Linked DNA regions of Homo sapiens: region 1 is linked to region 2. The links are contacts of gene promoters, found by promoter capture Hi-C in blood cells and fetal thymus (Javierre and others, 2016). All regions are on one chromosome and are shown on one strand. Each heading gives the region's core, a stretch centred on a gene start or on the middle of the fragment in contact. The rest is flanking DNA. Distances are from core to core; before and after follow the strand shown. Region 1 overlaps BUB1B-PAK6 (BUB1B-PAK6 readthrough). Region 2 holds the start of PLCB2 (phospholipase C beta 2).

Evidence for each region. The method cuts DNA at HindIII sites, captures the fragments that hold promoters and counts their contacts. A CHiCAGO score of 5 or more calls a contact.
Region 1: a fragment that was not itself captured here is called in contact with the fragment with the promoter of PLCB2 in region 2 in 2 of 17 cell types (M1 macrophages and M2 macrophages); the score reaches 7.6 in M1 macrophages.

Annotation. Positions count from the first base shown.
Region 1 is chr15:40,220,961-40,225,078 of GRCh38, forward strand. All of the region lies in intron 1 of BUB1B-PAK6 (BUB1B-PAK6 readthrough), which reads left to right. The region is part of intron 1 of LOC107984763 (a long non-coding RNA gene); the gene reads right to left. BUB1B (BUB1 mitotic checkpoint serine/threonine kinase B) reads left to right here. Exons shown (of 23, transcript NM_001211.6): 23 at 1-163. Among named protein-coding and RNA genes, the nearest start is that of BUB1B-PAK6, 5.6 kb to the left of the region's middle. The HindIII fragment of the contact is 1,303 bases long and covers 1,891-3,193 here.
Region 2 is chr15:40,306,120-40,310,357 of GRCh38, forward strand. PLCB2 (phospholipase C beta 2) reads right to left here and starts at 1,816. Exons shown (of 32, transcript NM_004573.3): 1 at 1,470-1,816. The coding sequence starts at 1,553. It overlaps LOC112268152 (a long non-coding RNA gene), which reads right to left. Exons shown (of 3, transcript XR_002957721.2): 3 at 3,918-4,238. RefSeq lists a silencer at 3,946-4,149. The HindIII fragment of the contact is 15,701 bases long and covers 1-4,238 here.

The DNA.
Region 1 (4,118 bases), core at 1,292-3,791, 84 kb before region 2:
TGTGAAGAACTATTTTATTCTAAACAGACTCATTACAAATGGTTACCTTGTTATTTAACCCATTTGTCTCTACTTTTCCCTGTACTTTTCCCATTTGTAATTTGTAAAATGTTCTCTTATGATCACCATGTATTTTGTAAATAATAAAATAGTATCTGTTAAATTTGTGCTTCTAACATGTCATGTAGTTTTTGCAAACTAAAATAACAGATGGCTTAACTTTGCAGAGATGAACTATTTTGCCATGGAAATTTATATATCCTAGACTTCGAATTGTTACAATAGGGTTGTGATGAGACAGAGTAGCCAACTATTTCTTTAGGTGGGTCTGACCTTCCAATAAGTGGTCTAGACTGAAAAGTAGGTAAGATGATATGCATAAGACCAAATATCCTTCAATTTCAAGTGGCATGATTGTATACATGGCTTATGTTTTAATGTTTTCACTTTTTTGGAGACAGGGTGTCCTCTGTTGCCCAGGCTATAGCCTTGATTTCCCAGGCTCTGGCAATTTTCCCACCTCAGCCTCCCAAGTAGTTGGGAGCACAGGCGCACACCACCACATCTGGCTAATTTTTTGTATTTTTGTAGAGATGGGATTTCGCCACAGTGCCCAGGCTGGTCTCAAACTCCTGGGCTCAAGTGATCTGCCCACCTCGGCTGCCCAAAGTGCTGAGATTACAGGCGTGAGCCACCATGCCCGGCCCTAATGCTTTCACTTTTATCCACCAAGCTCCTTGGTCTATTTATATAATCTAGTGGCACTGCTGCTGGGGTCTTTTGATTAGGAATGTGACTGTTAGAAAGTAAAAGCAAATGTGTTAAACAGGGTTTAGCAACCTTTCAGAAATGGAATAATCACCATTCTATTACATGCAGAATGACTTGGAGGGGGCAAGGGTCAGTGAAGGAATAAAAGGAAATTTTGCTTGAAAGATTTGAGGAAGCAGGAGGTCAGAATAAAACGATAACTTTGAAGTATGAAATAGTTTGGAAGAGAATAGGCCTAGATAAAGTATTGGACTCCCAAAGGGAAGCGTGAATTACACCTGGCCTCAGGGATAGGGAAGAAAATTGGTAGAAAAAGGCAATGAAAATTATCCAACTATCAGCCGGGCACCGTGACTCATGCCTGTAATCCCAGCACTTTGGGAGGCCAAGGAGGGAGATTCATGTGAGACCAGGAGTTTGAGAGCTGCCCGGGCAACAAAGTGAGCCCCATCTCTACAAAAAATAAAAATAAACATAAATTAGTTGGGTGCAGTGGCACTTGCCTATAGTCCTAGCTGCTTGGGAAGCTGAGGCGAAAGGATTGCTTGAGCCTGGGAGTTCAAGGTTTAGTGAGCATGATTGCGCCATTGCACTCTTGCTCCGGGCGACAGAACAAGACTCTGCCTCTAACAAAAAAAGGAAAGAAAATTATCTAATTATCTATTTCATATCTAAATACCAAAATTATCTAATGTTCCTCCTTGCTAGTGCCTTATTTTTTTTTTACTCTAGTTGTCACTGTTACTGCTCTAAGATTGCTGGAAAGCAAAAAATCCTACGTATGTCTCAACTAAAAATATTTAAGCATATATAGTTGAAGCACTGCAACATGACTTGGATCTGAAAGATAATCAACTTAGAAATATTTGCTCTTAACCAAAATACAGCTCTCCAAACATTCTCACATTTGCTTCTTATACTGATGATGTAAAATGATATATCTGTATCTTTTACATAATCAAGCCCCTCTCCTCTCTGCTCTCCTCATTTCTCAGTTCACTGTGTTGACACATGAAGTTATTACTCTGAGACTGGACAGAAAATTTAGATTTATTCTTAATATAGGCTTAGCTACTATGTAGTGAATAGCAACCTTGACAGCAGGCTGCTGTGAAGTAAAGCTTTGTTTCTGGAGTAGGCTGTGAGGAAAGGGAGGGGAATCTGAGGAAACTACTTTGTTAGAGAACTTGCATCTGTTTTGCCACCCCTCCCTTCCATTCCAATCTCTTCCAACCCCAGCCCTTTGTAGAGAGGAGAAAAGTTTACCTGACCATTTAGGACTTACAATTGTCTTAGGTTTTCAGTTTGCCTAAGCATAAAACCACAAAGTGAGATCCTTTACATTTCCCTTATATTTTATGCTTATTTGTCTTGGGAGAAGGAAGCCTTTCCTTTTTGGCAGAAGTTTCAAATGGTTCTTATTTCTTGTCTCACTAAGGCAGTAATAGCATAGTGATGGACCTGGTTGGGTAGTGGGGGACAGCTGAAAAGGCAGGAGTTTTACTTTTGTTTGAAAAGAGACCACATCACATATAGCATCTCACCATTCACAAAGTGTACATCCACCGATACTACTCCACTGTTAGAGCCTTCGTCCTCCTATGGCAGTAGTATAAGAAACCTTCCACCAAGTCAGAGTGCTCTAACTGATGCCAAACCTAAACCTGGAAATAAAGATTTTCCTGGAGCAGTAAGACTTCAGACTGTTGGTTGAGCTATTATCTCAAGGTAGATAAGAAAGCCTTTCAGAAGGTGAGCACAAGGTTCTTTGAAATAACTCATTGGTGTCTTTAAGCTGAAGCCTTTAAGCAAAGACAGCAAAGAAATTGCATCTGAAAATGAGGAATTCTTCCAACTGCACCAGTTCTTTCTAATGTGCCAAAATTAGCTTCTAATTTGGCTCCTAAAATAAAGGTTTCCCTAGTGAGGAGAATGCATTTAAAAAAATTTTTTTTGTAATATGGCAAACTTCTACCTTAACGGGGTCCTTGGTTCTACCAGAGACATAAGAAGCTATGAATATTTAATAGGACAAAGATGGCATTTTAAGTCAGTATGTGAAAAGATTATTTAATAACTGGTGTTAAAACAATGGATTAGGCTGGGTGTGGTGGCTCGCACCTGTAATCCCAACACTTTGGGAGGCTGAGGCGGGTGGATTACCTGAGTCAGGAGTTCGTGACCAGCCTGGCCAACATAGTGAAACCCCGTCTCTTCTAAAAATACAAAATTAGCCATGCGTGGTGGTGCATGCCTATAATCCCAGCTACTTGGGAGGCTGAGGCAGGAGAATCGCTTGAACCCAGGAGGTGGAGGTTGCAGTTAGCCAAGATCATGCCATTGTACTCCAACCTGGGCAACAAGAGTGAAACTCTGTCTCAAAAAAAAAAAAAAAAAGAAAAAACAACCCACAATGGATTAAAGCTTGAACTCTATCTCCATTGACACTACTAGTTCATATAGCACCTTCGTGCAAATTAGAAAAGGCCCCTTCCTTTAGTGGATTCAGTACCTCCCAATGCACCATACCTTGACTGAATTTCAGTCCCCACTTACCCCCTCAGCCTGGTACCCTTGTGCAGCAAATACATTGTGCAGTCTTATGCATTGATCTTGCCTGTTTCACTGCTTATCCCCAAAATAATTTTGGAGAAATCAGAAATTTTAATCAAAATACAATGTAATAGATGGTTTTGCAATCTTTTGCCTGTGTGACATAAAAGCAAGATATAAACCAGAAGATTGCTATTACTATAGTAGATAAAAAATTAAATATAGGATGGATACCTATCCTCCCCTCCAAAAAAATTAAAACCATAAATTCAAACTAGGAACATTTACTGGCAACAAATATTTACATCTTTTTTTGCCTCGACTCAGGGATCTTGCTTTGTCGCCCAGGCTGCAATGCAGTGGTAAGAAGATCAACTCCTGGTTTCAGGCCTCCCAAGTAGCTGGGAGTCTCGGTGCACGCCACCACACCTGGCTAATTTTTTTAATCTTTAGTAGAGACAAAGTCTTGCTGTGTTGTCCAGGCTTGCATCCACTTTCATCTGGTCTCATGACTCTGTTGTTCCTACCCACCTCCAGCCAAATCAGAACCCTCCAAAGACTTTACCATGGCCTATAAGACCCCACCCTATCTGACCCCACTCTCTCTGACCTCCTCCCGGACTCCCCTCTTCCTCACCCACACTGCTGTAGGCGGCCTCCTTGTTGCTTCTCAAATGTGCCAACTAATTTCCCTCTCCCTCTCTTTAAAGCCTTTTGGCTTTTAAGGCCAGTTGTTTTTTGGCCTTGTTTTCCTTGATCTTCATGTAAATTACTCCCTTTCTTCCTTTCAGGTA
Region 2 (4,238 bases), core at 566-3,065:
GGCCATGGGAGATGAAATAAAGTTGGGATTTGCTTACATCCTATGTATTCTGCTTATTCAACATGGCACAGCACACCCATGCCATCCACTAACTGTGCCAAAAGCAGCCTGAAAGCAGAGCCCTGTCTCACAGCAGCATGGACCTGTGGATAGGCTTGGGACATTCTTGCTTGTGCAGGTCAGGATCCAGAGAACATCCAATGCCCTACCTTGGAGAGGGGAAGGGAACAGCCAGGTACACAGGTGCCAGCTTAGGAAGAAGGACAGTCTCCGCTGGCCACCAACCCCCGACCTCCACTGCCACCCTGTGACCCTCTGCCCAGTCAGGTTACACACACTGCCCAGAGGAACTGAGAGAGGCCACTTCGCTTTTCATTCTGAGCCACTTCCCTCATTCCACAGGCTCCTGGGGCATGTCACCTCCATGCCACTGCCATGCTACACCAACCCCACATCACTCCTAGGGAAGCAGGAAGCATCTCACCACAGGGCCCCAACCCATAGTCATGGGCAGCGAGATCCCCTAGCCTAGCCCAGCCCCGAAGGGCCTAGACCCAGACCCCCTCATCCCACCTCCCATCAGGTGGACAAGTCAGCACTAAGGGCTGTCTTCCCTCCCCCACCAAGCCTTCATTTCCCTTCCTGGGACAAGCCCAGCACTCTAACTCTCAGACTGGGCGAGCCCAGCAGCCTCCCCTCCCTGAAGGAGAATCTCCATATTGTTCTCTCCAGCCTAAGAGAATCCCTGGCCTAAGGTAACATTTTCAGGGGCCAGGAGAACCAGAGCCTGGGAGCAGCCCCGTGTAGGAAGGAACAGACACAGCAGAGAGAGGGCTGCAGGGTGCAGCAGTGTCTTCCCCTTCCCTTGCTGACAGGCCTGCATCGGGGAGCAATGCTGAGCCCAGCAAGGGGTAGCAGAAGTCAAATCAGCTCCTTCCCTGGGAGCAGAAGCCTCTAGTTCTCACTTAGGTCCAGGGGCCTTTTGTGGCTGCCCCCACAGCAGCGCAGGGGAGAGCAAGGCTTCCCTGGACAGGATGATGCCCAGTGGAGGGGGTGAAGGAGCTGGGTCTGAGCGCCCTGCCGGAGCAAGGGCAAGACATCTGTGCTGGGAGCGGGGACGAGCTCACCTCTCCTCCTAGCCTGCCTCAGCTCTGGGGTGCACTTTCCTCCTCTTCTCTTGGGGGTTTGAAGGAGAAGAGAAGCAGACCCAAATAAACTACCTCCAGTGACCACCCAGGCAGCTCACCCACTTCTCACACCTAGAACCAAGGCTTAGCCCTTTAGCTGGGGACATACACCCTTAATCCCAGGTTTGTTTATCCAAGCAGTGGTGTCAGCTGCCTGGCCAAACCACACAGGCGCCTGGATCCTAGGAGACATAAACCAATCCTCCCACCCAAGCAAAGCCCCGTAGCAGCCCGGCCCCCACCACCTGGTGCTCCAGCAGCTGAGGCCCCTGCCCCACTTACATCATCCCATTTGATGAAGCGCTCCCCTTGGCTCAGATAGGCCTTCACCTTGGGGGGCAGCAGGACAGGGTTGAGCAGAGACATGGTGCCAAGCGTTCCTCTTTGCAGAATCTCAGCAGACACAGGCAGGCAGAAGGGCAGGAAGGAGGCCAGCCAGGAGGGGGAGCCAAGCTGGGCTCAAATGGCACCCATCCCCGAGCTGCTCCAGAAATCTAGTTGCTCTTATAGCCCCTGGGGTGGCCCTGGCTGAGTGCAGGACTGAGCTGTAGCCAGAGGCCCATCTGCCTTGTAAATCACCCTCCTCCCACCCGCCCTGCCTGCCATGGGGGCCTGTGGTCACTGCTTCTGCCCAAGGAGGCTGAAGCAGGAAGCCCCCGCCTCTTCTGGAGGCCCCCGCCCCCACCCCCAGCCCCACCCTGTGCCTCTCAGCACTTCCTGCTCTGGGCTTCCTTCTCTGCGCTGCTCACAGCGGAGACGTGGTCATGAGGCCGGGTCGCCTTGGAGCCAGGGCCTCTCAGTCCCTGTGGTGGTCTCTGGTCAGATTTGGCCCAGGAGGGCTGGAGAAGGACGACATGGAGACCAGCTGGGGAGACTGCTGCCCAGGCCTGGACTGAGGGAAGGCACAGGGAGCTCACTAGGAGAAAGGACCTCCTCAGGGGAAGGGTCCAGAGCATGGGCATCTGACCCCAAAGGTTGGGAGCACCGTAGAGGCAGGGGTGGGGTGGGGACAGGGCCCAGCTGGAATGGAGTGTTTTGAATAAGCAAAGTTTGCTGAACACACGGCTCCTCTTTCTCAATGCTTCCTCCCCCATGAAAATGAGGTGCACCTGCCGGGCGGGCGGGTGCGGTGGCTCACGCCTGTAATCCTAGCACTTTGGGAGGCCGAGGCGGGCGGATCACGAGGTCAGGAGATCGAGACCATCCTGGCTAACACGGTGAAACCCTGTCTCTACTAAAAATGCAAAAAATTAGCTGGGCGTGGCAGCGGCGCCTGTAGTCCCAGCTACTCGGGAGGCTGAGGCAGGAGAATGGCATGAACCCAGGAGGCGGAGCTTGCAATGAGCCGAGATGGCGCCACTGCACTCCAGCCTGGGCGACAGAGCAAGACTCCATCTCGAAAAAAATAAAAAAAGAAAGAAAATGAGGGGCACATGAGGCAAGGCAATCACTCCCCTCACCCACCTCACCAGACTCCCACCTCTGGGCCTCTGGGACTGCCTGAGGCCTGGACCCCCACTGAGCAGCCCTAGCCCCTGCCTCCACTGCGCTCTCCTCTCTCCTCCGTGTGCCCGCCTCTGCTGTGTACCCCAGCCTGCAGCGGGGCTGGGGCGGAGGGATGGCTGCTCTGGTTGGCCAGGCTCAGCCCCAGCTGCTCAGGTGCCTGACCCACACTCTGCCCCAGGCCCAGGGAGTTCAGCACCAGTCCAGCTCAGCCCAGCCCACTTCCTCTTGCCTAATCTGCTCCTCTTATCGCCCTTCTTAGCCCAGCCTGGGAGGCAGGGAGCTCTACCCAAGACTTCCTTCCCCTCTGGGGCCTGGCCTTTTGCCCTGGGTCACCCCCCCATGGGGCTTTGCATACCCCCAACAACGGTAAGACCCTCACCCAGGCCCTAGAATTGTCGCGGCTGGAGGTCTGGTCCAGGGCAGGGTGGAGGGTGAGGGAGGACACTCTTCATGCGGAATTAAGATAATAAACTGCCCAGTGGAGGCTGGAGCTAAGGGAATTCCCAGCACAGAAATAATCTGCAGAAGAGCAATTCTAGGGCCGGGGGATGGAGCCGGAGCAGGGCCTGACCAAGCCTCTGGAAATGGTAACAATTCAGAGGACTCTTCTTCCTCGTTTCCCCCAGTCCCTTAGCGTCATCTCTCCTCTCTCCCTCCCTCCAGTCTGGGGCCCTTCTGGGGGCCCCTCTGGCAGCCCATGCTGTTCTGGGTTCCTCCCTGGGATCAGGTTCCCTCGATATCTGTTTGAATGGATTTTGCAAGGGAAATCCCTGTCCCTTCCCAAAGCCCCTGCACCTGTCACCTGCGGCTGCCCTGGTCCCGGCACCCAAGTCCCTCCCTTTCATCTGTCCTGTAGCCATCAGCCCCCTCTCCACTTTGGGCCTGGAGAGACCAGTCCATTCCTCCCCCTCAGCCTGAGGAGGAAAGGGACAGCCTCCTCTCCTCATTTCAGGATTTCAGGGCTCCTCACTCTGTTCCTTTCCATCTCCAGCTCCGAATCCACAGAACAAAGCCTTGCCCATCTTTACTCAGTGATGTCACTGCCTGCACTGTTCTTGGGACCACAACTGTAGCTTCAGTGGGGGCCTGTACTCTCCTGCTCACATCCTGACCTCCTGCAAAGCTAGCTCCAAAAATGCAGAAAATCCAGGCAGTCAGGAGAGCGGAAAATCTTCATCAAAGAGCTTTTTGCTTTTAAAAATACATTTAGGTTTGAAAATTTGTGTTGACAAAGAAAAATGTTATGTAAATAATAGTAGAGAAAATCAGGGTAGTTACATGAATGCCCCGTTTGGGAAATGTGGCCTTGGGCTCCTGGGCTGAGCTGGGTAGAGGGCAACCCTGCAGTGGGCCAGTCTCACCCCTCCAGGGTGGGCAGTGGAAGGGCAAGGATGCCCCCTGCTGGGTGCACTCAAAGCATGCATGTCCTGGAAGTTGCGGTTGGGTCTGTCATTTGTGACCCACGGGAACACCTATGCCAGAGAGTTTGGCAAGTGGGAGCCTTGGGCCATAGAATGTGGTAAGAACTTATATTCAACCAAATGT